2 separate regions of the Homo sapiens genome follow, and region 1 is linked to region 2. Evidence: promoter capture Hi-C in 16 types of primary human blood cells and fetal thymus (Javierre and others, 2016). All regions are on one chromosome and are shown on one strand. The core of a region is centred on a gene start or on the middle of the fragment in contact, and the rest is flanking DNA. Distances in the headings are between cores, read along the strand shown.

Region 1 (2,927 bases), core at 427-2,926, 140 kb before region 2:
TTGCCCATCTCTTTTAATGCCTTGTTTGAAATAACTTCACCTGAACCTAAAATAAAAGTTAAAAACTAAAAAAAAAAAAAAAAAAAAAGAACTTTAGACCATCCTTTTGGTAACTTCAATCATTACCTTTGATGGGATGATCTGAGATTGGGTCTTTTACTTAACTCTGTCACATAGCAGACTGTCGTGGAGAGGCATTTTTTAAAATACTATTGTTTTTGTTTTTAAAGCGCTATCACACACCTCCAAGATCAAGATCCTGTTCTGAGTCAGATGATGATGACAGCAGTGAAACTCCTCCTCACTGGAAAGAGGAAATGCAGAGATTAAGAGCATATAGACCACCTAGTGGAGAAAAATGGAGTAAAGGAGATAAGTAAGAACTTTGAGTATAAGCACAATCCTGTGTCTGTTATATTTTAAATGTTAAAGGGATTGGATACAATTCTGGACTTTTCATTAAAGATTCAGTGAAAGATTCACAGTCAGACTGTGACCAAAGGAAATACATTTGGGACTACTTGATGAAAGTAGTACTGTTAACTAGTTGGGCTTTTAAATCAAAATCCTGTTTTCCTTAACAAAAACTATAAGCCTGTGTCTTTTAATGACCTCTTAGTCAATTTTAGAAATAATTAGGACTTAGAGGCCGGGCGTGGTGGCTCACGCTTGTCATCCCAGCACTTTGGGAGGCCGAGGCAGGCGGATCACGAGGTCAGGAGATTGGGACCACAGTGAAACCCCATCTCTACTAAAAATACAAAAAATTAGCCGGGCGTGGTGGCGGGTGCCTGTAGTCCCAGCTACTTAGAGAGGCTGAGGCAGGAGAATGGTGTGAACCCGGGAGGTGGAGCTTGCAGTGAGCTGAGATCGTGCCACTGCACTCCAGCCTGGGTGACAGAGCGAGACTCCGTCTCAAAAAAAAAAAAAAATAATTAGGACTTAGAAATTATATAGCAGATTCTTTCCTAGCCAGCCAGGTCACTGATGAGTTCATTGGTAAATAGGAAAACCTGCACTCGGTGTTCATGTTGACTGTTGATCGCAGAGACTTGCTTTTTTAGAAGTGTACACATCTCTTACCTTCAGTGATGTCCCACAGTTGAATATTTATTTTAGGAAGGGGATAGGCCCCAGAATAGCTAGTGAAAAATATACTAATGGGACCCTGTGTAATCTTCCATGGTAGTATTCTCTTTTTCTCTGGGGACATCCTGCAGAGTGGTTTGGAATTGTGAAAAGGAGGAAAAGGAATGCATCTGCTGTGTAGAAGCGGCTCAGACACAGTGGTGCTGAGGACTTTCAGTTCTGAGCCTTGACATTAACACTCAGATTGTAACCTGTATCTGTTTTTGTGTACTTTTTCCTCAATTTCTGTTTTAAGTAGTTTACAGTCTTAGGGGAAATCTGGATTACCTGTCTGAGGTGGAGAAAAAACAAGCTTCATGCTAGTTTCAAGCAGCTATCCTGCATCTTCAGAAAATCAACAAATTGTTTGAGACCTTGGTTTGACTCACCCTCAAAAACTGTCCTAGAGGCAGAGGGTTGTGAGCAGATAACAGCCAGGAACTCTTGTGATTTGAGTTCAGCAGTGTTCTTGTGATTAGTTGGTTTGCTTTTCAAAAACATTTTCCTAACAAATGTAAGGTTCTTTGCTTAGCTTAAAAAAAAAATCCTTTTGTAAGTGAATTTGTTAGTAGTTCTTAGTGTGTGTCTCTGAAAGTATAACAAGACCAGGCCTATAACTCTGATTCACGCTTCCTGCGTGTGCTTAAAGTGTTAATGGGGTCAAGAACTTTGTTGTTAACAAAGCTGTGTCTTAAGGTGTAGAAAACATGCTTATAAATCACCGCATGAATATTATGTCCTTTCTATAGGTTAAGTGACCCCTGTTCAAGCCGATGGGATGAAAGAAGCTTGTCTCAGAGATCCAGATCATGGTCCTATAATGGATATTATTCAGACCTTAGTACAGCAAGACACTCTGGCCACCATAAAAAACGCAGAAAAGAAAAAAAGGTTAAGCATAAAAAGAAAGGGAAAAAGCAGAAACACTGCAGAAGACACAAACAAACAAAGAAGAGAAGGATTCTTATACCGTCTGACATAGAATCCTCAAAATCTTCCACTCGAAGAATGAAATCCTCTTGTGATAGAGAAAGGAGTTCTCGTTCTTCCTCATTGTCATCTCATCACTCATCAAAGAGAGACTGGTCTAAATCTGATAAGGATGTCCAGAGCTCTTTAACCCATTCCAGCAGAGACTCATACAGATCAAAATCTCACTCACAGTCTTATTCTAGAGGAAGCTCAAGATCAAGGACTGCGTCAAAGTCCTCATCACATTCTCGAAGTAGATCAAAGTCCAGATCTAGTTCCAAGTCTGGGCACCGAAAGAGAGCATCAAAATCACCAAGAAAAACAGCTTCTCAGTTAAGTGAAAATAAACCAGTTAAAACAGAACCTTTAAGAGCAACCATGGCACAAAATGAAAATGTAGTAGTACAACCAGTTGTAGCAGAAAATATTCCTGTAATACCACTGAGTGACAGTCCCCCCCCTTCAAGATGGAAGCCTGGACAGAAACCTTGGAAGCCCTCTTATGAGCGAATTCAGGAAATGAAAGCTAAAACAACCCATTTGCTACCCATCCAAAGCACTTACAGTTTAGCAAATATTAAAGAGACTGGTAGCTCATCATCCTACCATAAAAGAGAAAAAAATTCGGAAAGTGATCAGAGCACTTATTCAAAATACAGTGATAGAAGTTCAGAAAGCTCACCAAGGTCAAGGAGCAGATCTTCTAGGAGTAGATCTTATTCCAGATCATATACAAGATCACGTAGTCTAGCTAGTTCACATTCAAGGTCTAGGTCTCCATCATCTAGATCTCATTCACGAAATAAATACAGTGATCATTCACAGTG
Region 2 (2,883 bases), core at 109-2,608:
GGAAATGGGAATACGGAATACATAAAGGAACTGTTTTTTGTTTAATGCTTCTAAAAATCTGCTTTAAGTCTATTTTCTTTTAAAAGTAAAGGCTAAGCCGGGCGTGGTGGCTCATGCGTGTAATCCCAAAACTTTGGGAGGCTGAGGTGGGTGGATCACCTGAGGTCAGGAGTTTGAGACCAGCCTGGCCAACATGGTGAAACCCCATCTCTACTAAAAATACCAAAATTAGCCAGGCATGGTGGCGGGCGCCTGTAATCCCAGCTACTCGAGCCCAAGGCAGGAGAATCGCTTGAACCTGGGAGGCAGAGGTTGCAATGAGCCAAGATCGCGCTACTGCACTCCAGCCTGGGCGATAGAGCGAGACTCCGTCAAAAAAAAAAAAAAAAAAAAAAAGTAATAATAAAAAAAATAAAGTAAAGGCTAGAGCTGCATGGAAAGAACTCTTGGCTCAGGTAGGACTTAGAGCCAGGGAGTAGGAAGAGTGGCATGCACTCTGGAGTCCTATGAGGAAGCAAGATCCCACAGGATATGGGACCATAGGTGACAGGGACCAGTGAGGAAGGATTGAGACCCCTTGCCCCATCGGCCTGCCACTTTTTTCATTGTTTTTCTCTTCCCCTCTCCTTCTCTTTCTTCTTTTCTTTTACTGTGTTCTTTTCGAGTATTCTCAACAACAGTCTAGGGGCCTGGAGGTGTGGGGAGGCCGCCCACGGATGCCTAGTTTGGCGCTCTGTGCACTGCTAGCATCTTCGTAGGGATGGGTTTGGGATGGGAGCGGGGTGATGCTCTGGTTCTCAGGGCTGGACTCCGGGCTTGGAGGGGAACTCCCTCTTGCGAGTCCCCAGTCCTGTGGGGGCTGGGCCTGGAAGGGGAACTGGGAGATGCGGAAGTGCACGCCGTCGGGTCGCATCTTTCAGTGCGGTGCGAGAGGGCCCAGTGGCAGAGGCCCAGCAAACAGCGCTTGTCAGGCGGACCTGAGTTCGAGTTCTGACTGTGCCATCTACGCTATGACTTTGGGGCAGGCGACCCACCCTCTGCGCCTCATTAACCCATGTACTGCATGGAAAATAAGCGTCTGCCTGGGTTAGAAGAGGGCTGTGTGTGAAGATTCAAAGGACGAAGGGGAAGAGTCCTCGCTGGGCGCCCAGCACGCGGTGAGCGCCCGGCCAGTGGCAGCGCGCTCGGGCTGGGGTTGCGCTCGGGCTCGGTTCCGCGCCCCCGGCAGCTGCGGGCTTTCCCAGCTCCGGCCCGGGCCCTTCCGCTCTCCCCGGCACTTACAGCGGTCTCTCTCCACTTCTCCCTTCTAGGACCGCGGCGGCTAGGTCACCTCCTCCGGACGCCGACACGCGCTGCCCTGGCAACCGTCACCAGGGAAACAAGCGACGTCACTTGCGCGTTTTCAACGCTACTCTACGGGGGCCGAGGGGGCGCCAAGAGTTCTGAAAGTGACAGAGGCGCTGATGGCGCGCTGGGCTGGATCCAAGCGAGCACGATCTCGAGTGCGCTGGAGATTTTAAATCTTCTGGAGTATATTTTTAAAAAAGTTTTGTGGACCAAACGTTCTGCACAGAGATGCCCATTCCGCTCTCCTGTTGGGGAGTTAAAAAGCGAACGATCTCACCATGAAATTTAAAGTAGCCATTCAGATATATTTGAAAAATGTAAAACAGTGTGGGGAAAGGCCATGTTATGATGGTGAGTGAAGGAAGCAGGACGCAATATAGCAATGCTAAATAAATAAAGTTGTGTTTATTTCAAACTAGGCACTAAAACAAGACCGAAATAGAAATATTAAAAGTGGTTATATTTGGGTGGTGGAATAGCAGTGCTGTGTTTTTATTTTTACACTTTAGAGAATTTTTAAAATAATGAACATCGTTTATTTTCATAAAGGAAAATACTTGTTTTTTTTTTTTTAAATGGCACCTTCCAATGTAAGACACTACTATATTTCAGGGCAATATGGGGGTGGGAGGCAAATTTCTAGGAAAGATGATTCAAGGGAGATTTCTTTCTATCTATCTATCTATCTAATCTATCTATCTATCTATGATAGAGTCTCGCTGTGTCGCCCAGGCTGGAGTGCAGTGGTGCGATCTCAGCTCATTGCAACCTCCATTTCCCAGGTTCAAGCGATTCTCCTGCCTCAGCCTCCTGAGTAGCTGGGATTACAGGCACCCGCCACCACACCTGGCTAATTTTTTTATTTTTAGTGGAGACGGGGTTTCACCATGTTGACCAGGCTGGTCTTGAACTCCTGACCTCAGGTGATCCGCCCACCTTGGCCTCCTAAAGTGCCGGGATTACAGGCGTGAGCCACAGCTCCTGCCCAAATATTTATCCAGGACTTCATAATTTGAAAACCTTGGCAGTTGTTTTTCTATTTTTTTTCCTCATAAGGTGAATGAATACCCATCCCATAGACATGCATACATAAGATACGGCACTAGACTGCCATCAGCACTGCAGGTATAAACCCGAAGTTTCCTGATAAAGGAAAAATGGATCTTTCCCGTTGGTCTCCAATTGCTGCCTGGTGAGCTGAGGGTGGGAGACGTATAATATACAGGTGGCAGCAAAGAGAGACAGGATAAAGAGTAGGATTCAGGTAGATGTGAGCCTCAAAGGATTAGGGTTTTTTTTAAATGGTGTGTGTAGTGGGGAGTATCATTCGTTTGCCTCATGACCACGATGGGACTATGTGGCATAGGAAAAGGAATAGCCAGGTCTACTTAGAGGGCTTCTGGAAAGCATGGATCCTAGCAGAAAGCCAGGTTTTCATTAAAATAAGAACATGCTGTGAGAAAATTAAGGATGCAAGAGAATTTCAGAACCGACATTCTAGAATGTATGTATTAGAAAGTTTGGGAAAGGGGTAAC

The links. The method cuts DNA at HindIII sites, captures the fragments that hold promoters and counts their contacts. A CHiCAGO score of 5 or more calls a contact.
Region 1: a contact is called between a fragment that was not itself captured here and the fragment with the promoter of CCDC13 in region 2, in 1 of 17 cell types (M2 macrophages). The highest score is 7.2, in M2 macrophages.

What each region holds. Positions count from the first base shown.
Region 1 is chr3:42,634,991-42,637,917 of GRCh38, forward strand. NKTR (natural killer cell triggering receptor) reads left to right here. Exons shown (of 17, transcript NM_005385.4): 12 at 231-376; 13 at 1,878-2,927. The region is part of intron 1 of ZBTB47-AS1 (ZBTB47 and NKTR antisense RNA 1); the gene reads right to left. Among named protein-coding and RNA genes, the nearest start is that of ZBTB47, 17 kb to the right of the region's middle. The HindIII fragment of the contact is 475 bases long and covers 1,440-1,914 here.
Region 2 is chr3:42,771,895-42,774,777 of GRCh38, forward strand. CCDC13 (coiled-coil domain containing 13) reads right to left here and starts at 1,359. Exons shown (of 16, transcript NM_144719.4): 1 at 1,282-1,359. It overlaps CCDC13-AS2 (CCDC13 antisense RNA 2), which reads left to right. Exons shown (of 2, transcript NR_122070.1): 2 at 1,311-1,741. RefSeq lists a silencer at 1,080-1,239 and an enhancer at 1,370-1,539. The HindIII fragment of the contact is 4,325 bases long and covers 1-2,883 here.